2 separate regions of the Homo sapiens genome follow, and region 1 is linked to region 2. The links are contacts of gene promoters, found by promoter capture Hi-C in blood cells and fetal thymus (Javierre and others, 2016). All regions are on one chromosome and are shown on one strand. The core of a region is centred on a gene start or on the middle of the fragment in contact, and the rest is flanking DNA. Distances in the headings are between cores, read along the strand shown. Region 1 holds the start of ZNF230 (zinc finger protein 230). Region 2 holds the start of ZNF235 (zinc finger protein 235).

Region 1 (5,035 bases), core at 120-2,619, 300 kb after region 2:
GGAGTGCAGTGGCGCGATCTCGCTCACTGCAAGCTCCGCCTCCCGGGCTCACGCCTTTCTCCTGCCTCAGCCTCTGGAGTAGCTGGGACCACAACTGCCTGCCACCATGCCCAGCTAATTTTTTGTATTTTTTTTTTTAGTAGAGATGGGGTTTCACCATGTTGGCCAGGATGGTCTCGATCTCCTGACCTCGTGATCCACCCGCCTCGGCCTCCCAAAGTGCTGGGATTACAGGCGTGAGCCACCGCGCCCAGCAAAAATATTTTAGATATCAGGAAATAGTCATAAGGATAATGGGAATAATAAAATTGAGCATTATATAATATGGCAGTTCACTAGTTTATTCTTTTTTTTTTTTTTTTTTTTGAGTCTCACTCTGTTGCCCAGGCTGGAGTGCAGTGGCGTGATCTTGGCTCACTGCAACCTCCACCTCCCGGGTTTAAGCAATTCTCCTGCCTCAGCCTCTAGAGTAGCTGGGACTACAGGCACGTGCCATCACGCCCGGCTAATATTTGTATTTTTGGTAGAGATGGGGTTTCACCATGTTGGCCAGGCTGGTCTCAAACTACTGACCTCAAGTGATCCACCTGCCTTGGCCTCCCAAAGTGCTGGGATTATAGGCATGAGCCACCACAACCAGCCTCACTAGTTTAGTCTCTATTAGCAATATTTAAAATTTTCTATAGTTAAAAGACATATGGGAAAACACATTAAAATATAACAATTTTTAAAAAAATGTTTATCAACAAATATAGAAGTAGACACAAAGAAAGACAAAAGAAATCAATTAGAAGCTTAACAGTTACTACCTTTACATCTTGGATACATGGGTAATTAAAAAACTTTTTCTACTCTCATTTCTCCTATTTCAGACTTTTCCACAATGATACAGTTCCACAACAGTACGAAATACTTGGAAAACATGAAACAAAATAGTTGAGAAATTTTTAAAAATTCCTAGACGTCCAAGCCCACGAGCCTTGCTCTCAACGTCCTTTCAATCAGGTCCTAACTTGCTTTCCCTACGAGTCCAGCTAGTTCCTCTGCCTCAATGAGAATGTATCCAAGAGGTGATCAACTCAGGCTCTGACCTGGACTGCCTAGGTGCCAACCCCAGCTCTACCTCTCACTAGTTGGCTGCTATGCACCCTGTGTCTCACTCTCATTTTTAAAACAAAGAAAAGCAATACTTCACAGAGCCACAGTGTGGCCTAAATTTATTTGTATAAAGCACTTAGAATGAAGTTACCAATTACGGCTTAATGATTATCAACACCCATTCCCGAGGACACACTCTCGGTTGGGTGAACATCTCTATAAAGGAAAAAAGCCAAGGACCAATCACATAGAGATTTGCCCTCAGTAGCCAAGAAGTCCCCTCCCTGCAGCTCTTTTAGAAAGGTCAGGCTGGGGAAGGCGAAAGTTGTGAAATACCCTGACTGCATCGCGGTCCCCCATAAAAGTTAAATGCTCCCCGCCCTTCGTGGAAGCGGACGCAACTCGCTTTCCTAAAAAGAGGTCAGAAGGCCTCCCGGGATCATCCAGCGTCCTGCAGGGATTAGGGAGAAGGACCAGGGCCCCTGCAGCTGAAGCTATGACTCCACCCGGGGACCTGACCTCTTCGGGAAGTTAACAAGAGACCACCAGTCACCAAGTGACAGGGACTGCTTTAAGGTTCTCATTTGCGTTATCTCTTTCAGTTCCCAAAAACGATTCTACTAGGATGGTTCTAATGTCCCCATTACCAAAAACAGCAATGGAAAGTATAAGGACATTGAGTAACACTCCACGTCACACTGCGAGAAAGCGGTCGCACAGGTAGGGTGGAGAGAGGCAGGCTGAGCGAGGTCAAAGTCCTGGAAACGCTCACAGCAGGGCACAGAGGACCCCGCCAATTCCAACCCCCGGGATGCGAGCACAGCACCCCCATCCCAGAAAGCTTCCGTGGACGGGAAAAAAACCCCATTCCCCGCCCCCACCAAACCTCCGCTCTCCGCCAAGGCTTCTTTTCCCTTGCTTGGATCATCGATCATCGGGTCGTTGCGACCCCAAGCGAAGGTGACAAGTTCAGAAGGACCCGCCAGACGCAGAAATGGCTCAAACTACGCGGTTATGTAGCAACCGCAGGCTCACACACCGGAAGTGCTCGCGTCTCCACAGAGCGTCTGGACTCCACTTCCCAGAATTCCCCGGTTCAACTGCTTGAGCCAAAGGGTCCGCCATTCCATGAAGTTGATGGACTACAGTTCCCAGAATTCACTCGTCCACCCGCCTGAGCCAACTTGCCCGCGACTCAGAGTGTGTCTGGACTCCGCTTCCTCCAATGCCAAAGGAAAATGTCTATAATCTCACTCTTCAGCGGGAAGCGTTGGACTCCGCGGTGGTCCTTGACTACACACACCGCAGTGCCCACCGGGAACGTATTCCATATCTCTGAGCGCCTGGTGGGGAATGTGGACTGTGACCCTGTGAGTCGTCCGTCTCTCTTCCTGAGTCTTTGAGCGAAAATAGTGTATAGACAGGAATTCCTGAAGTCTAAACGCCTCCCACGATGACAGGAGTGTTATTGGGAAGAGAACAAACGAGGAGATAAAATCTTCAAGGATTAGGATAATCTGACGATGGGAGGTTAAAACTAACGGTTTAAAGGATGAGCCAGGTGGAATGGTTTGGCAGGGGCAATGAGGAGCAGGAAGACACCAGCCCCTACTCCAGAAGCTGTGGGACCACTGGTTTGGCAGGAAAAGCCACCCCCATTTAAGATCACAGCTACTAGTGGAGAAGCGGTGTCGTCATGGAATAGCTATCTTCCCATAAACTTTTCATGGTATTCATATTTCTCCTTAGATGTAGAAACATCAAATTTCAGCGAATGTAGTGAATTGCTCAGTACCTCAGAGCAATAATGACTGATGAAGAGCTAGGCATTGGTATCAATCTTACATTGAGATTGTAAATGCAGTAAAACGGGAGGATTCTATAGGTGAAGGAGCATGTCTTATAAAGAGTTTTCTTCCTGGCCAAGCGCAGTGGCTCAAACCTGTAATGCCAACCCTTTGGGAGGCCAGGGCAGGACGTTCCCTTGAGCTCAGGAATTGGAGACCAGACAGGGAAATACAGGGAGACTTCGTCTCTATAAAAATTTTTTTTTAACTGGCCAGGCATGGTGGCCTGATCTTGGGACTACAAGTTCCAAGTACTCAGGAGGCTGAGGTGGGAGGATTGCTGAAGCCCAGGAGTTTGATTGAGGCTGCAGTGAGCTATGATGCCACCACTGCCCTCCAGCCTAGGCAACAGATACCTCAATAATTAAAGATTTTTTTTTTTAAGTTTCTTCTTATTTCTTGGTGAAACATAATTTCTTTATTATAGTTAGCAATTTAAAAACTGGCATTGGTTAAAAAATAATAACAGTATAAAGCTAAATTAGGAAACAATTCATCTAAAAACCTGCTCTTTTGAAGGTAACTTTTTTTCTCCCTATAAACATACATTGGCCTATAAACCAATATTCTTCTTTTTAAAAAAAATGGAGTCTACTGTTTACCTATTTTTCTAAACTAAAAACTTTTCAAAATTTTGTTTAGACACAAAAATAAGGTGACTGTGCCAAACTTTTGATGCCAAACATCCGCTCTCTGAAAATTGAGTGATCACTATTCATATGCCAGTTATAGCTGTATCCTTGATCTACTCTGCCTTCCCGAAAGATAAGATGTATTGACACACTCAATCGTAGCATGCAGGGAACTGAGCCTAAAAGGTTAGGGGCACTTGGCATCAAAGGTCCCTTCTGCTTCCCAGGTCCGTGCACTCTGGGTCTGTGTTGGGAGGAGCAGCCTCTATGATCTCCTAGATGCCTTTGGGGTCATTCTTCCAGTGTTAATGGACAGCAGGTCCTGGCTTCTGTTGACATGACCAATCCAAACTAATCTCCTAAATCAGTTGCTTATCTCTACCGTTGTTTTATCCAGAACAGGTTTTCTAATTTTTTTTTCCAAAGTAGATAGGCTGTGAATTTTTAAAATTCTTAGTTCTGTTTCCCTTTTAATTAATAATTCTGACTTTCTGTGGTGTCCCTCCCACATGTGGGAATTCTGGGAGATACAATTCAAGCTGAGATTTGGGTGGGGACACATCCAAACCATGCCATTGATGACACTGACAAAAACAACAGGGAAAGGACTCCCTATTCAATAAGTGCTGCTGGGATAACTGGCTAGCCATATGCAGAAGATTGAAACTGGTCCCCTTCCTTACACCTTATACAAAAATGAAGCTGGGCGCTGTGGCTCACCTCTGTAAAAATGGGTAATAATGTCCCCACTTTTAGTTACTTGAGTCTTTTTTAGTCAGTCCTGCTAAAGTTTTCACAATTTTGTTAGTCTTTCAGAATAATCAACTCTTGGTTTGGTTGATTTTCTTTGTATTCTTCTTCTGTATTTTATTTATTAATACTTTAATCTTTATTATTTCCCTCCTAATCACTTTCTGTAAGATTCTCCTTTTCTAGTTCATGAAAATAAAATTAGGCTGTGGATGTCAGATCTTTCTTCTTTAATATAAGCATTTACAGATATAAATTTCCCTCCTCCTACTGCTTTTGCCTCATTCCAAAAGTTTTGGCCATTGTTTTCATTTTCAGTTGTCTAAGGTATTTCCTAATTTCACTCCTGATGTACTCTGACATATTATTTAAGAGTGTGCTGCATGCACACGTATGTTTATTGTGGCACTATTCACAATAGCAAAGACTTGGAACCAACCCAAATGTCCACCAATGATAGACTGGATTAAGAAAATGTGGCACATATACACCATGGAATACTATGCAGCCATTAAAAAAGATGGGTTCATGTCCTTTGTATGGACATGGATGAAGCTGGAAACCATCATTCTGAGCAAACTATCACAAGGACAGAAAACCAAACACCGCATGTTCTCACTCATAGGTGGGAATTGAACAATGAGAACACTTGGACACAGGGTGGGTATATATATATATATATATATATATATATATATATATATATAC
Region 2 (4,805 bases), core at 2,164-4,663:
ACATTCACCTTATTTATGTAAAAATGTAGATTTATTGGGGACTAACTAAAGTCTCACAAGAATGTAACTATTCGCCTAACTGCATACCTACCCCTCTTCCTATATCCCTTCCCCACCCCTTTAAGGAAATTGACAAATACTAAACCTCCCGAAAACCTCTTTGGAAAGATAGTCACAGATGTGTCTGTGGCTTTGTTTTTCCCCGGCAGGTCCTACAGCTGGCTTAGTAAACCTCAATGACTGAGACTTATGCCTGAGTCACTCATTTTGGTTGTCAAGTATTAGGAAATACTAAGAAATAACTGGTATTTTGTTCAGTGTGATAATAGTATTGTGGTTTTGAAAGAAAATATTTTTATTTTAAAATATATTTAGCAAAGCATTTTGAGGTGAAAAGACATAATTACAGGAATTTGCTTTAGAATTGTAACTAAAAAAACAGTGATAGATGAATTAAATAGGCTAAACAGTGTTAATTATTGAATTTGGGATATCAGTATATAGAGTTCATTTTACTATTCTCTCTACTTCTATATATGTTTGAAAACTTTGATAATAAAATGTAACAAACTACAGCTGACCTTTGAACAAAACAGGTTTGAACTCTGCAGTTCCACTTATACATACATTGTATTCTGCTTTTGCCATCCCTGACACAGCAAGACCAACCCCTTCTCTTCCTTGTTCTCCTCAGCCTATTCAACTCAGTGAAGATGATGAGGACGAAGATCTTTGTGATGATCTGCTTAATAAATAGCAAAAAATACTTTCTCTTCCTTATGATTTTCTTAATAACATTTTATTTTCTCTAGCTTTATTGTAAGAATACAGTCCAACCAAGGCGGGCAGATCACCTGAGGTCGGGAGTTCGAGACCAGCCTGACCAACATGGAGAAACCCCGTCTCTAAAAAAAAAAAAAAAATACAAAATTAGCTGAGCATGATAGTTTATGCCTGTAATCCCAGCTACTCGGGAGGCTGAGGCAGGAGAATTGCTTGAACCCGGGAGGTGCCATTACACTCCAGCCTGTGCAACAAGAGCAAGACTCTGTCTCAAAAAACAAAACAAAAAACATATATATATATACACATATATATGTTAATTGTTTATGTTATTGGTAAGGCTTCTGGTCAACAGGTTATTGGTAGTTAAGTAAGTTAAGTTTTGGGGGAGTCAAAACTTACAGGTAGATTTTTCAACTGCCCAGGGGTCAGCTCCCCTAACCCTTGTGTTTTTCAATGGTCACCTGTATATTTATACCTGCCTAGGAGAAAAATCACGGCTTCTTTGTTTCATCTAGTTTATTCAACCATAAGACACTTAATTTCATTTATGTCAGGATCAGGATCAAAGTATGTAATGAAATATTTGAAGCCGAACACAAATTAGAAAACAATTCAAGATTTTACACATGCCCATATTACAACGTTGTCTTAGATTCCCGGCCAATGGAGCTGCTTTTGTTTGCCATAACAGTACACATTTAAAATAAATGAAGTTCAAGATATTTCTCTGGCTTAATATTTATATTGCCTTTTTGTGGGTTCTTAGTATATTAGAACGAATAGCACATTAAACAAAACACTGTCATGAGCCCTTAGGTACCTTGAGGAATAATGGAGGGAAAAGAGTCAAACACTTTACTCCCTTCTCTCCTTGTCACCGACCCCTAAATATACACAACTTGGACACTAAGGACTAAAACTCCATCCTCTTTCCCTGCCCCTCACTGATACGGAAGAGGGGAATGGAAGTGCTGGAGGGGAGAAGGGTGTGGTCCCTGACTAGGGCTCTACCCCCAGGCCTGTGGCCACGGACCTAGGTGAGGACAGGCATTCCTGCCTTTGTGCCCAAATATTGCATTTCCCAAGACCACCCTGGCCCACCACGCCCCCATCCTGTGCCTATAAAAACCCTGATACCCTAGCAGGCAGAGACACAAGCTGCTGGACGTTGAGAGGAGAGCATTGGCGGACACACAAACAGCTGGCTGTCGAGAGGCTGTCGAGGGGAGCGGGTCGGCAAAAGAGCACACTGAAGAGACCGGCAGGCCAGCAGGCCATTAACCGGTGGAATAACGCAGTTTGGCCTGGGTAGTCGGAGGAGCGCCCAGGCCGCTGAGAGGCTGACTCCAGGCGAAAACCATCTCCCTTCTGGCTCCCCCTTCTGCTGAGAGCTACTTACAAATCGTTCTCCAAGGTTTCTCCAATCCTTGCACTCTTTCTCCAAGCCTATGTGTGATGCGATTCTTCTGGTACACCAAGGCAAGAACCTCTGGGATACAGAAAGCCCTCTCTTGCTTGCGATAAGTCAGGGGTCTAATTGAGCTAACACAAGCCTCCTACAGATGGCTGAACTAAAAAAGCACCCTATAACACACGCCCACTGGGGCTTCAGGAGCTGTAAACATTCACCCCTAGACACTGCCGTGGGGTTGGAGCCCTACAACCTGCCCGTGTGCATGCTCCCCTAGAGGTTTGAGCGGCTGGGCACGAAGAAGCGAGCCACACCCCATCACATGCCCTGGGAGAGGGAGAAGTGAACTTTTCCCGTTTCATCACAATTTACTTTCGGCACTAACATGATTGTTCAGCTGTCTTCATCAGCAGGCCTTTATTCCAGGAGATTCCTGCCCAAGCAAACTGTTTAATTGTTCATTATGGGAACTTCCACAGAGACCCATCAAATTTTCAATCTCTTCCAAAGAAAGTGTCAATAGATTGCAATTTAAGATTCTTTGCTTCAAAAATCCTTGCTATATCCACCAATCCTGGACTGTAGTATCATGATCATTATGCAATACTAATAAAATCCCTTGCATTGAAAGACCCGCCTTAAACATCCAGTTCTCAATCAGTTCCAACCTTGCCTTGACACTTTGCTCTGTGAAGGTGCCAACGCTCCGTCGAAGTGTTGTTCTCCATTACTGCAATCAACAATAAATTCTGTTTTTTGTCTTATCAACAGGTTGAGTTGATGATATTTGGGGAGCCGGCATTTGACACAAGTTTGAGATCTGGTGTTCCTTAACGTTCAGCGTCCATCGGAGCTCAGCCTAAGTCACTTTTACGCTTCCCATTTTAGCCTACCCTCTGCTTCTGCGAAAAATTTTGGTTTCTAACTTATTTTAATAATACAAGCTGCACTTTTCATTTTTATATGTCATCACTTTAAAAATTTTACAATTATTTTCTCATGAGCTTTTAAAAATGAATAAAACAAAAACGAATCTCACAGTAGTAGCACCAGAGAAGTGGCTCAAACCCAACCGGCTTGAGTCAAAACAAAGCCCAGCTGGTGGGAAGCGCTGCCCTTGGAGCATTCTGGGAACTGTAGTCCAGGAGTGAGAGAACTCTGAGACGCTTCCGCTTAGGAATTCTGGGAAGTGGAGTCCACGAACCGTGGGCACTCGGAGGCACTTCCGCTCCAGGAAGGCGAGGTCGGATCTGAGATATCTCCCAGGGAGGTGAGTCAGCTCCGGGTCTCCAAGACTTCTCCGAGCCCTCTTTGCCTAGGCGTGGGGCCAGCAATGAACCCGTCCTTGGCTTGGGGAAGAGAAGCCGCGGCCAGCGCTGGAGGGCGGGGTTGGGAGGCTGCGGGAGTTTGCGTCCCCTCGGCAGAACCTCTTGCGTGGGAGGCGGGCTCGCGTCGTCCTTCGAGGTTGAGGGTCTGCTGCCCTAGCCGTCCTCACGCACCTACCAGCCAGTCCTGCCTGCTCCTCGCAGTAAAATATTGGGCAAGTTACTTAATCTCTCCTTGTCTCAGTTTCCTCGTGCCTGTAAAGGGTTAGTGCGTTCCCAGTGATGTTCTTGTGAGAATTAAATGAGGTTTTATAGAAATAAGCTTAAAACCAGTGCATAGGAAAATGTTGGATGCCACCGTTAATTCTGTTATAATACTGAAAAAGACGCCTGTTGTTTGGAAACTCCTCTGAGTCTAGGAGATCCAGCTACGGAGCCGCTGTCCCTTCTCTAATCCTTGCCTGATGTGGGGCCGTTCCTGGATTCTTGGACTTTTCTAGCCTCTTGTTTAGGAGACAGGAATTAGTTCCAGCGGAGCCTGGGGAATGTCCTGTGTGTTTTATCTCAGATAAGCGATCGTCATTACGGATTTGCAGAGTGCCAGAGGTGTCCTGAGGCCCTAATAAATGTTCAGTATAATGTGGTTATAACCAATAATCCCGTGTGGTTAACTTAAGTGTAACACCATTTCTTAGAGAGTTTTAGGTTTTTATTAGTCATTGCTTTCATGCATGTGGAAAAAGAGACTTTCTTGAGGCTCCTCCAGCTTAGTAACATTTGCAAGTAATTACATCTGTTGGAGGAAAAAAAAACCTGTGGCAGTTTAACTATCATTACCAACGGAACTAATTATGTTAGACAACCAATCACAGTTACAGACTTTTCTGAGGGTAATGGTAACTCACAGGACAGAGCAATTATTTTTGAGTTCTGGGTTTCTTAAAAGATTCATTTTCTAGAAAGCATACTCAAAAGGGCAGTTTTATGAAGCATAATAGCACTTGCTTGTCAGAAGCTGCAGGAAATAGAGAATACAGGCATTATTATTGTCCCCATTCACAGGTAACTGAATTAAGGCACAGAGAGATTAATAATTCGCTTAAGGTTTATACTGCTGATCAGTTGAAAATAGGTAGAAATGCCAAAATTTGAAGCCAGGCATTTTGGCTCTGTTACATTCCCCTGCCTGTCTGTGTCTCATTTCCTTGGAAACTAAAGTTCAGAAGGAGTACACAGAGAGCTGTATTTGATTTAGGTCTGTTAATATGAAATGTTCATGAACA

The links. The method cuts DNA at HindIII sites, captures the fragments that hold promoters and counts their contacts. A CHiCAGO score of 5 or more calls a contact.
Region 1: a fragment that was not itself captured here is called in contact with the fragment with the promoter of ZNF235 in region 2 in 13 of 17 cell types (monocytes, non-activated CD4 T cells, naive CD4 T cells and 10 more); the score reaches 11.1 in monocytes.

Annotation. Positions count from the first base shown.
Region 1 is chr19:44,000,057-44,005,091 of GRCh38, reverse strand. It overlaps ZNF230 (zinc finger protein 230), which reads right to left and starts at 2,135. Exons shown (of 5, transcript NM_006300.4): 1 at 1,985-2,135. It overlaps ZNF230-DT (ZNF230 divergent transcript), which reads left to right and starts at 2,222. Exons shown (of 3, transcript NR_110727.1): 1 at 2,222-2,827. RefSeq lists an enhancer at 1,863-2,372. The HindIII fragment of the contact is 1,145 bases long and covers 797-1,941 here.
Region 2 is chr19:44,303,633-44,308,437 of GRCh38, reverse strand. ZNF235 (zinc finger protein 235) reads left to right here and starts at 3,413. Exons shown (of 5, transcript NM_004234.4): 1 at 3,413-3,467. RefSeq lists enhancers at 1,499-1,998, 1,999-2,500, 3,077-3,630. The HindIII fragment of the contact is 5,796 bases long and covers 1-3,846 here.